Linked DNA regions of Homo sapiens: region 2 is linked to region 1. The links are contacts of gene promoters, found by promoter capture Hi-C in blood cells and fetal thymus (Javierre and others, 2016). All regions are on one chromosome and are shown on one strand. Each heading gives the region's core, a stretch centred on a gene start or on the middle of the fragment in contact. The rest is flanking DNA. Distances are from core to core; before and after follow the strand shown.

Region 1 (6,235 bases), core at 1,977-4,476:
CAGTCAAGGGACCCAGGACCCGAGCAGCTGGCAGAAGGACTTGTACCTTCTGTTTGTCCCATTGTATCCAAGATGTTAAAATCATGATGTCACAACATTTAGACATTTAAATGGTTAATCAAATGTATGTCTCTCCTGATATACAGCTAACTGCTATAGACTAATGCAGGCCTCCTTGTTAAAATGGACCCTTTGTTACTCAAATTTGACCAATCTTGGAAGCTTGGATGTGCACTGACTTGACAACCACTTTTTGTGGGACATAACACTCTAGACACAGGTGCTTCTAGCTCTAAGGGGAACAGATAACTAATCTGTGGCCAACCAACCAATGATTAATCAGCTATGCTGCCTCGGATCTTGATCAAAAAAGGAAAATGTGAAAAGTGATACACAAAATGGCATCACTTTGGTTCAGAGCTCTAAAATGGAGTTGGGAAGCCATTCTAAGAAGGACTGCCTGCACAATCTGCAACTTGCAAAACACAAAAACAAAAAATATGAACTTGCCTTGAAGCTTTGAACTGGGCCAAAACTGCAATAACCACTACATCCTGGAAAACTGAATTTCACCAGTGCTACAACTCCTGAACAGCGGCAACCAATCAACTATGGATTCATGTACTAAGCCAGCCACCTCCACCAATGATAATTCTTTCAAAACAATTTGTGTATTAACCCTCTGCTTTCTTTTAAAAACATCTACTTCTCTCCCTCTTTTCAGAACCCCATTTGGCTTCTAGGTGAATCTGTGTCTCCCAAATTGTAATTTCTAAGACCCCAATCAAAATGCCTTGTTTGGCTGGACGTGGTAACTTGCATCTATAATCCCAGCACTTTCGGAGGCCGAGGCAGGTGGATCACTTGACCCCAAGCTGGCCAAAATGGCGAGACCCTGTCTCTTTTCTTTTTTTTTTTTTTAATTAAAAAAAAATGCCTTGTCTTACTGCTTTGCAGTGTGGTCTTTCACCTCTTCTTTTTTTTTTTTTTTTTTTTGAGACAGTCTTGCTCTGTCACCAGGCTGGAGTACAGTGGTGCGATCTTGGCTCACCACAACCTCCGTCTCCTGGGTTCAAGCGATTCTCCTGCCTCAGCCTCCTGAGTAGCTGGGATTACAGGCGTGCGCACCACACCCGGCTAATTTTTGTATTTTTAGTAGAGACAGAGTTTCACCATGTTGGCCAGGATGGTCTCGATCTCTTGACCTCGTGATCCGCCCTGCCTCGGCCACCCAAAGTGCTGGGATTACAGGCGTGAGCCACCATGCCTGGCCCTTTCACCTCTTCTTGGTTGACATAAGCAATCAGTTCTACAGCAGATACCAGCTGGGTATGCTCCAGTTCAATTCCAACACTAACTACCTGGCGATATCATCAGACCCCATAGGTTAAGGGCTCAGTCCCACAAAACTGCCACCCACTTCTGAGGCCAGTTGCCAGCCCCAGGTTGTTTCACCTGCGCTTCTGACTAACCAGCTATAAATTGCATTTCCCACAACCCTCTCTTCATGTTCAATTAATTTGCTAGGGCAGCTCACAGAACTCAGGAAGACACATAGACTGACTTCTTACAAGGGATGTTACAAAGGATTCAGATGAAAAGATGCATAGGGCAAGAGCTTCCACGCATGCCCTCTTTGAGTGCGCCTCCCTCCAGGAAACTCCATGCATTCAGCTATCTGGAAGTTCTCCAAACCCATTTCTTTTGGGATTTTATGGAGGCTTCATTACCTAGGAATGATTGATCAGCTTAAGCTTCAGCCCCTGTCTCCTCCCCAGAGGTTGAGGGGGAGGGCTGAAAGTCTCAAGCCTCTAATCCTACCTTGGTCTTTCCAGTGACCAGTCCCATCCTAAAGCTACCTAGGGACTGTGAGTCATCAGTCAACTAATTAGCATACAAAAAAACACCAATTTGCTGATTCCAAGGATTTTAGGAATTGCATGCCAGGACAAAGACCAAATATATACTTCACATTATCACAGTTATCTTGCAAGGCAAAGGGACTTGGCAGTTGGAGAAATTATCCTGGATGATTTGAATGGGCCCAATGTCATCACAGGGGGCCTCAAGAATAGAAGAATCAGAGGGATCACTACTGAAGAAATCAGAGTGATGTGATGTGACGAAGACTCAACTCACCGTTACTGATTCTGGAGATGGAGGAAGGGTCCGCAAGCCAAGGAATGTAGGCAACCTCTAGAAGCTGGGAAAGGCAAGTGAACAGATTCTCCCCTGGAGCCTTGGGAAGGAATACAGCCCTGCTGACACCTTGATCTTAGCCCAGCAGTCTCATTTCTTTTGACCTCCAGAGCTGGAAGATAATAAATTTGTGTTAAGGCAGTAAGTTTGTGGTAATTTATTAATAGCAAGAGAAAACGAATATAGCTGCTAGTATGTAAAAGGTGGAAATTTTCACATAAAACTCTAGCCATACCAAAGATGAGTAGCAGCTGCCCCCTTTTAATAAAGGATGTGTTTCCAATTTCACTGCAGTCCTCACCCCTCCCTTTTGTCTACCCCAGCCTCCTATGTCCATTTACATGAACTACCCAGTCTAAGTATTAAGTTTTGTAATCGTATACTGAACTGCAGTGTCTCCCAAACAGTAATCCTAATTTCAGCAGCTAAAATAGAAGCAAGCAAATCCAGCCTTCTTAAAATGATTAATCCTATCAATAATAACAATCTTTTCATTTGTATAGTGTGGTCTAGGTCAAGTTACTTAATTTATATAAGCCTAAATGTCCTTCTCTGCACAAGGTGGGGCAAGTTACAGTACATACCCGCTACAGTCGTTTTGAAGACAAAATGAGACACAGCATGAAAAGTGCATCCACCAGACCCACCTGGTACCCAGTAAGGCCTAGGTAATAAACAACGGCGGAAATCAGTGTACTTCTGCCTCACCTGCCACTAGACATTTGGGTTGTTTCTAATCTTTGGGAAGTAAACGCATTGCTCAACGTATTGCTTTTTCTTTTATGTGACTACTGCCTGAAGTCACTTTCCTAGGAAGAATGGATCGATTAGAGAGGCGGGGCAATACCTTTTACCTGCTGGCAGGTGAAATTTCGCCTCCTGGCGGCGTCACCTAAAGTCCTCTCCCTCCAAGGCGCGCCCTCCGCGGCCGGCAGGGGGCGCCGCGGCCGCCTGGGCCCGCCGGATGCTAACAAGCCTGGCGGCCTCGCCCCCTGCCGGAAGTGGCTGCGGCGGGGGCGGGGCCTACGAACTGGGCCGGGCGGCCGTGCGGGAGCCATGGCGGCCTCGGAGGCGGCGGCGGCGGCGGGGTCCGCGGCTCTGGCGGCGGGTGCCCGGGCCGTCCCGGCGGCCACGACAGGAGCCGCCGCCGCCGCCTCGGGCCCGTGGGTGCCCCCGGGACCCCGACTGAGGGGCAGCCGGCCGCGGCCCGCGGGGGCGACGCAGCAGCCCGCTGTCCCCGCGCCGCCGGCGGGGGAGCTGATCCAGCCGTCGGTGAGCGAGCTGTCCCGGGCCGTGCGGACCAACATCCTGTGCACCGTGCGCGGCTGCGGCAAGATCCTGCCCAACAGCCCCGCGCTCAACATGCACCTAGTCAAGAGCCACCGCCTGCAGGTGAGCCCGACGCGGCCGGCGGCCCGGGGGGCCGGGCCTGGCTCCAACAAAGCGCCCGGCGCCGGCGCGCGAAGCCGGCCTCGGGGGGACGAGCGCCCTGCGCGCTGCCGCTGCCGCTGCCCCACCGGCCTCTGCCCTCCCCGGCCGGAGGCGGCTCTCGAACCCTCGCGGCAGGCGCCGCAGGTGCGGCCTCTGGGGGGGAGGAGGAGCTGGGAGCCCCGGGTCCGCCGTACGCGCCAGTTCCCTGGTTCCCTGGCTCCCTGGCCCCGAGTGTCGTGCCGGACGCCGGCCCAGGCTTTTTACACTTTTTTGCCTGTGAGTTCTTAACGGCGTTTTGGCGAGGGACGCATCGTCTCCATTATATTAATGAGAAACAGATTATGCAACCTAGATGATGCGGGGCTTTAAACCGGGGCCTCTGGTTCTAAAGCCCTGTGCTTGCCACGACACCCACAATGCCGCCCTTGGGTCCTGCCCAGTGGACTGTATGTGCCACAATAACTAGAAGAGAGGGTTTTAAATGTTCTCACCACCAAGAGACAATACGTTTGAGGTCGAGGACATGTTAAACACTCTGACTTGATCACTATGCAATGTATATGTCCATCCATGCTGCACACCGCACCCCATCAGTAGGAATAATTACTGTGTGTCGATTATGAATAAAAAAATGTTTTAAAGGAGCGGTAGGTTTGCCTCTAAACACCATCAGTCAGTTTCACGGTGTTGGTAAGATCAGCTCAGGACTGAGACCTAAGGGAAATTGCCCCTGTGGCTCTTCTTTAAGAGGGGGACACAGTAAATACACCATGACAATAGTCTCAACAACCCTCCACGTTATGCAAAACAGGGCAGTCATTTTCAACCTTGGGACACATCTGTGACAAGCTTATTAAAAATCCAGATGTCCAGCCCCACCCCGGACCTGTTAAGTCACAATCTCTCAGTCATTACAATGGCAAGTTTCCTTCCACCACTCTAGGCCAGCAGTGACATAATTCAAAAGCGCAAGTCATTGAAAGCAGTTCTGCGAATATGTAGCTTTTGATGATCAGGAGTAAATTTAGAGTACCCAGAATATTGCATGTTCTGTCTGCCCATAGTCAGGCTTCTGATAAGAATTTCACAGCAGAAAACTCTGAGGTTGTAGTCTCTAGTAGGACAGATGTGTCGCCAATGAAGAGTGATCTGCTCTTACCACCATCTAAACCGGGATGCAACAACGTTCTCAATTGAAGATCAGGGAGCCAGTCAGGAAATGTACCTGAGGTATGCTGAGGAAGACCGTGCAGGTGGGGCCGAATTGTTGGACTGAAAAGCTCTGGGTTTCTTTCAGCACTCAAGTGTAACTCTGGGAATGGCTTTCAACCTGTTGTTTTGTTTTCATACTAAATTTTAACTAAATCCTTTTCTTCCCTATTGTTTTTGTGTTTTTTTGTTTGTTTTTGAGACAGAGTCTCACTCCATCACCCAGGCTGGAGCGCAGTGGCGCCATCTCAGCTCACTGTAACCTCTGCCTCCGGGGTTCAAGCAGTTCTCCTGCCTCAGCCTCCCTAGTAGCTGGGATTACAGGCACCTGCCACCACACCCTGCTAATTTTTTTTTGTATTTTTAGTAAAGACAGGTTGCACCATGATGGCCAGCTTGGTCTCGAACTCCTGACCCTCAGGTGATCCACCCACCTCAGCCTCTTAAAGTGCTGGGATTCCAGGTGTGAGCCACCGCGACCGACCTAAATCCTTTATTTAATCATAACTTAGGTGGATGAACTATTTCTTAATAGTTTCTGTTGTTCCTTTCTGTGGAGTTGTTGTTAGGAGCTCTAGCTCTTTAAAGACCCTGGTAAACATCTGTTGAACATAAAGATACCATTTGCCTTTCAGGACTGGTTAGTATACAGTAGGTTTGTTTCTAATTATGTTGGGTTTTTTTTGTTTTGTTTGAGACAGAGTCTCACTCTGTCGCCCAGGCTGGAGTGCAGTGGCGCCATCTTGGATCACTGCAACCTCTGCCTCCCAGGTTCAAGCGAGTCTCCTGCCTCAGCCTCCCTAGTAGCTGGGATTACAGGTGCATACCACCACGCCCAGCTAATTTTTGTATTTTTAGTAGAGGTGGGGTTTCACCATGTTGGCCAGGCTGGTCTCGAACTCCTGACCTCAAGTGATCCACCCGCCTCAGCCTCCTAAAGGGCTGGGATTACAGGTGTGAGCCACTGTGCCCAGCCAGGGCAAACTTTTTTTTAGCAGGAATTATACCTCACCAGATCCATCATTTTTTTCTTGACAAGCAGACTGACTTTCCTGTCTTGTCCTGGCTTTCTAACCGCAGTGCCCAGTGGCCCCTGAGCAGCTCCTGTCTTGGTGTCTTCCTTTAATGAAGGTTGTCTGTGTGATGCAATAGCCATCTATATGATGGTGCCCAGTATGGAGATCTGTACCTTGTCTGGTTACTACATAGAAGGCTTTTCAGGGTCTTGCTCTGTTAACCCAGGTTGCTGTCAGGCTCTTGAGCTCAAGTGATCCTCCTGCTTTAGCCTCCCCAGTAGCTGAGACTATAGGCTCCTGCCACCATGCCCTGCCTCAAACATTGTTCTTTTTGTTTGTTTGTTTGAGACAGTCTCACTCTGTCGCCCAGACTGGAGTGC
Region 2 (5,640 bases), core at 18-2,517, 690 kb after region 1:
TAAGTCTGATAAGAAACATTTACAATCTATTCTCTCTGAAGCCTGTTACGTGAAGGCACCATCTGCATGATAACACCTTGGTCTCTACAACCCATATGGCAACTCAGACCTTTTCTTTTCTTTTCTTTTCTTTTCTTTTCTTTCTTTCTTTCTTTCTTTCTTTCCTTCCTTCTTTCCTTCCTTCCTCCATCCCTCCCTCCCTCCCTTTCTTTCTGTCTTTCTGTCTTTCTCCTTCCTTCCTTTTTTTTTTTTTTTGAGACAGAGTCTCTCTCTGTCGCCCAGGCTGGAGTGCAGTGGCGCCATCTCGGCTCACTGCAAGCTCCGCCTCCTGGGTTCACGCCATTCTCCTGCCTCAGCCTGCCGAGTAGCTGGGACTACAGGTGCCTGCCACCATGCCTGGCTAATTTTTTTGTATTTTTAGTAGAGACGGGGTTTCACTGTGTTAGCCAAGATGGTCTTGATCTCCTGACCTCATGATCAGCCTGCCTCGGCCTCCCAAAGTGCTGGGATTACAAGCGTGAGCCACCACGCCCGGCTGTCTTTCTTTCTTTCTTCCTTCCTTCCTTTCCGTGAGCCAGCATGCCCTTCCTCCCTCCTCCCTCCCTCCCTTCCTTCCTTCCTTCCTCTCTCTCTCCTTCCTTCCTTCCTCCCTGCCTTTCTTTCCTTCCTTCCCTTCCTTCCTTCTTTTCTTCCTTTCTTTCCTTCCTTCCTTTCTTCCCTCCCTCTCTTTCCTTCTTTCCTTCCTTCCTTCCTTTCTTTCTCTTTCTTTCTTCACAGGGTCTCACTGTGTTGCCCAGGCTGGACTGCAGTGGCATGATCTTGTCTTACTGTAACCTCCACCTCCCAGGTTCAACCCACCTCAACCTGCCAAGTAGCTGCAGTTACAGGCATGTGACCCCACACCTGGCTAATTTTTGTATTTTTAGTAGAGATGGGGTTTTACCATGTTGTGCAGGCTGGTCTCGAACTCCTGACCCCAAGTGATCCACTCACCTCAGCCTCCCAAACTGCTGAGATTACAGGCGTGAGCCACGGCACCCGGCCACGACTCAGACATTTCTTACTACCGATAATAACTTTTCAACCAATTGGCAATCAGAAAAATTTACATCCATCTACAACCTGGAAGGCCCTGCACACTTTGAGTTGTCCCACGCTTCCAGATGGAACCAATGTCAGTCTTACACATATTGACGTATTACGCCTCCCTAAAATGTATAAAAACAAGCTGTACCTTGACCTCCTTCGACACATTCAGGATCTCCTGAGGCTGTGTCACCGGCACGTCCTTAAACTTGGCAAAATAAACTCTCTAAATTGATTGAGCCCTGTCTCAGATACTTTGGGGTTCACAATACTTGGCAATGGTACATATTTATGGTTTCCATACATGTATACATTGTGTAATGATCAAATCAGGGTAACCAGCAAATCCATCACCCCAAACCTTGATCATTTCTTTGTGGTGAGAACATTCAGACGTCTCTTGTCGCTGTTTGGAAACACACACCACGTTATTGTTAACTGTCCTCACCCTGGGGACAGCAAGGAGGGCCGAAAGGAAGTGCAGGCTGCTGTGAGCGCCTTCAAGAGGGGGCAGCACTGAGCTCACCTGCGAGCCTAGGCCTGGAGAGCAGCTGGAGTCTCCAGCCCGAGGGGAGGCGGAGGAGGAAACTGCCTTGCAGGCAGAGGGAAGAGCATGTGCGGAGGCCCCGAGGCAGAGCCTGGCAATTCGTCGGCGGAACAGATGCTGGAAGTGGGGAGGAGGAGGAGGAGGAACAGGAGGAGGTACGGGGGTCTGGGCCGCTGTAGAGAGCCGAGGCCTCTGAAGTCTCAGCACTAGGGCAGTGGGAAGCTGTTACAGGGTAGACGCCCGGGATGTGGGAGGGGCTATATGATAATCTGGGAGGTTTTTTGTTTTTTTTTTTTTTTTTTTTTGAGATGGAGTTTTGCTCTTGTTGCCCAAGCTGGAGTGCAATGGCGTGATCTCGGCTCACCGCAACCTCCGCCTCCCGGGTTCTAGTGATTCTTCTGCCTCAGCCTCCCGTGTAGCTGGGATTACAGGCATGCGCCACCATGCCCAGCTAATTTTTGTACTTTTAGTAGAGACGGGGGTTTCACCTTGTTGGTCAGGCTGGTCTCGAACTCCCGACCATAGATGATGCGCCCGCCTTGGCCTCCCAAAGTGCTGGGATTGCAGGCGTGAGCCACTGCGCCCGGCCTGGGAGTTGTTCTGTATTGTGGAGTAAAGGGAGGCAGAGGTGAAGCCATCGAGAGAGCAGCGAGCTCATCGCTCCCCACATTCTATTAAAATGCACATTCTCCCGGGAGGGGGTTTCCAGTTAATGAAACAGGAAGCGAGGTCTGTTGAGCTTGCAACCAGCTGAGAGCAATTTGAGGACAAAAGGGAAGGGCGGGAAGAAGCGGGATCTCGGGAAGGTGGCAGGCAGGTGAGAGCCTGGCTGGCCCGTTCACGCCTGTCTGCCCCTGGTGGCCAGGACGGGAAGGTCAGAGGACAGGGTCGGAGGCGCCAACGCTCCTGGGGTCCCAGCTGCTGCAGATCCGGGCTGGGGCTGGGCCTGGCCGCTGCTGGGGGCGGGAGGCAATTCCCAGCCCCGGGCCGGTGACGTCAACGTTGTCATGGAGACCCGGCTTCCCTGCCCAGCGTTGCAGCTGCGGGAGCCCGGGCTGGGAGGCTCTGTGAGGCTGAGGGAAGCAGAGGGCACAGACCTGGGTCCTGCAGGCGGTGGCTCCACCTAAGAGCACAACCCTGCCAGAGGCAGGATGCCCAGAATGGGCGGGGCTCCCTGCTGCACCCAGCCCGCCCCGACCCTTGCCGCCCAGACGTGGCTTCGGCCTTGCGCTGGCTCCTGGGGTAGCGGATGGGGAACCCCCTGAGATGGGGGCCCAGGCTTCCCCACCTTGGGGTCCAGGGACTGCCCTCTCAGGGGCGGACTCAGTCCCCAATCTGGAAGTTGTCTTGGCATAAGAGTGTTCTGGCATGCTCCTGTCGTCGTCCCCTTAACAGGAGTGTTTCCGGACCAAACTGAGGGTGGGGCTGCTTATTCTCGCGGCCCAATAACGAGATGCAGATGAACGGGGAAAGGAAGGAGTTGATTTCTGTAACCGGGTGCAGGGAGAAGGCCTGGAAATTATCCCCAGACCAACTCAAAATTACAAAGTTTTCCAGAGATTATGTACCTTCTAAGCTATATGTCTACGTCTGAGTGTGTATTCATCTAAAGACATAAGTGATTAACTTCTTTCTTTCTTTCTTTTTTTTTTTTGGAGACGGAGTTTCACTCTGTCACCCAGGCTGGAGTGCAGTGCACTGCAGTTCACTGCAACCTGTGCCTCCTGTGTTCAAGCAATTCTCCTGCCTCAGCCTCCTGAGTAGCTGGGATTACAGGCATGCACCACCCCGCCCAGGCTAATTTTTCTATTTTTAGTAGAGACAGGGTTTCACCATGTTGGTCAGGCTGGTCTCGACCTTCTGATCTTGTGATCCAACCACCTGGGCCTCCCAAAGTGCTGGGATTACAGGCTTGAGCCACCATGCCTAGCCGTGATTAACTTCTATAACTAAGGTCTGAGTCCTGAAGCTCTTCCTCTGGAGCCTCAGTAAATTTATTTAATCTAAATGGGTCCAGGTGCTGCGGTGATTACCCTTATCTTGTCTCCTGCTAAATCATGGGGGTTTGGGGAGTTCCTTCAGACCCCCAATAAACTTGCCTGTGGAGGCCTGGGGAGTTATTTCAGACCCCCAGTAAAACTTGTTTAATCCTAAACAGGTCCTGTTAAGAATTCCTTCGTTATCCTGTCATGCTTCAAGGCCCAGGAAAGGCCCAGGCAAAACTCTTGGTGGGCTTTTGTGACATTCCAGCCTTTGTAGAAGGGCACTGGCTCTCTCAGCTATTAATGTTTCACTGAACTACTCGGTCAGTGCCGAAGCCGTTGTGATGAAGCCTGCGTTAGTGAGACCCGGCCTGCACAGGAGCACATGAAGAGGGAACCAGAAGCCTCTTACTGACCTCCTTCCACTCCCCCCGTTCTGTTTCCAATGCCTATTCACTAAGGAACATTGACCGAGCCCCTCCTTGTGCCAAGCAGTGTCCTGAATGCTTTATGAGGTCACGGAATCCTCCCTGTGGCCCCAGGACCTACAAGGGACATTTTGGAAGCCGCTGGTTTATTTATTGTTGAGCACATATGTGTTCACACATGTGTTCCCTGGAGCACATGTGTGAAATGGTGTTCTTCTTGGCGCTATGGACTGCTCTGTCAAATCTTTCCAGTTTGTTTTTTTAATAGATGTATTTTTTGTTTTTGGAGACAGGGTCTCACTCTGTCACCCAGGCTGAGGTGCACTGGCACCATCATAGCTCACCGCACCCTCCACCTCCTGGGCTCAAGTGATCCTCCCACATCAGCCTCCTGAGTAGCTGGGACTACAGGCCAGTGCTACCATGCCTATTTTTAAATTTTTTATAGAGACGGGGTCTCACCACGTTGCCCAGGCTGGTTTCAAACTCCTGGCCTTCAGTGATCCTCCTGCCTTGGCTTCTTAAAGCACTGGGATTACAGGTGTGAGCCGCCATGCCTGGGCTTTTCCAGTTTCTTAAAATACCTTTAGTAGCACAAAGTCAGTCTAAGCTAGTTAAGACTTTGGCCTCAAAACTCAGTTCACGTTTCCTTCAGCCCCTCCCTTTTCTGAGCACCTGCCTCATTTTGCTGGGGTTGCCCTTGTCCTCCGTAGGCCATTGCTGCTTCTCTGGCTGACAACAGGGATGTTCAAATGGTGGTCCAGGTGTGAGCTTTGGGAGAGACCCCATGAGGCAGGGGTGGAGGTGATGGTCCCCAGGCCATATTCCCCCCAGCCCCTTCCCCCTGTGGGCCACCTCCCGCTGCCCCCTGCTGGGTCTCTTCTTCCTTTCTGGGTGGCATAACAGGAAGCTATCTCAGGCTTACTGCCTCCTGGTGTCCACTTGACTCCCAGAAAGTCACACTGCCCTGACCTGTAGACTGGAGGACATTGCTGTGGTCACCTCTCCCCACCCAGGCACCTCTTGCTAGCTGCCTTTCTCTAGTCCAGGCAGGCAGCATGAAGATCAAGCATCACCTGCCTTGGGCTGGGGGTGGCTGGAGGACAGGAGTGAACCCGGAACCTGGGAAGGAGATTTCCCTCTTTTTCTCTCCCTGCTCATGGACCTCAAGTCTTCTGTTGGAGGTGGGATGACATATGGAGAGAGTGGAACATTTTGCACCACTTTTTAATAAGCCCTGAAGTCGTCTTTTAGTTTTCTACCTTTAGAACATGGGGAACTCATGCCTAGATGGTGATTTCTAGACTGCTAGAGAAGGCTCACTCAGTCTCCTCTTATTTTGACCATCCATCTACCCAATGATCCATCCACCCACCCTCTATCCATCTATTCTCCATCCATCCAGCCATCTACTTATTCATCCATCTGTCCATCCTCTCTCCATCCACCCTTCCACCTACCCATCCACCCACTCACCCATCCATCCATCCATCCATCCATCCATCCGTCCATCCACCCACCCATTCATTTATCTATCTACCCATCCATCTATCCATCCATTCACCATCATCCACCCACCCATCCATCTATCCATCCA

What was found. Contacts are between HindIII fragments. The CHiCAGO score rates a contact against its expected background, and 5 or more counts as called.
Region 2: a fragment that was not itself captured here is called in contact with the fragment with the promoter of ATMIN in region 1 in 2 of 17 cell types (fetal thymus and M2 macrophages); the score reaches 10.4 in fetal thymus.

Annotation. Positions count from the first base shown.
Region 1 is chr16:81,032,616-81,038,850 of GRCh38, forward strand. It overlaps ATMIN (ATM interactor), which reads left to right and starts at 3,227. Exons shown (of 4, transcript NM_015251.3): 1 at 3,227-3,591. The coding sequence starts at 3,256. It overlaps CENPN-AS1 (CENPN antisense RNA 1), which reads right to left. Exons shown (of 4, transcript XR_007065134.1): 1 at 4,122-6,235; 2 at 2,140-2,311. It also overlaps a transcript of CENPN not described here. RefSeq lists silencers at 3,047-3,336, 3,547-3,896. The HindIII fragment of the contact is 2,725 bases long and covers 1,753-4,477 here.
Region 2 is chr16:81,727,940-81,733,579 of GRCh38, forward strand. No RefSeq gene overlaps it. Among named protein-coding and RNA genes, the nearest start is that of PLCG2, 49 kb to the right of the region's middle. The HindIII fragment of the contact is 9,174 bases long and covers 1-5,640 here.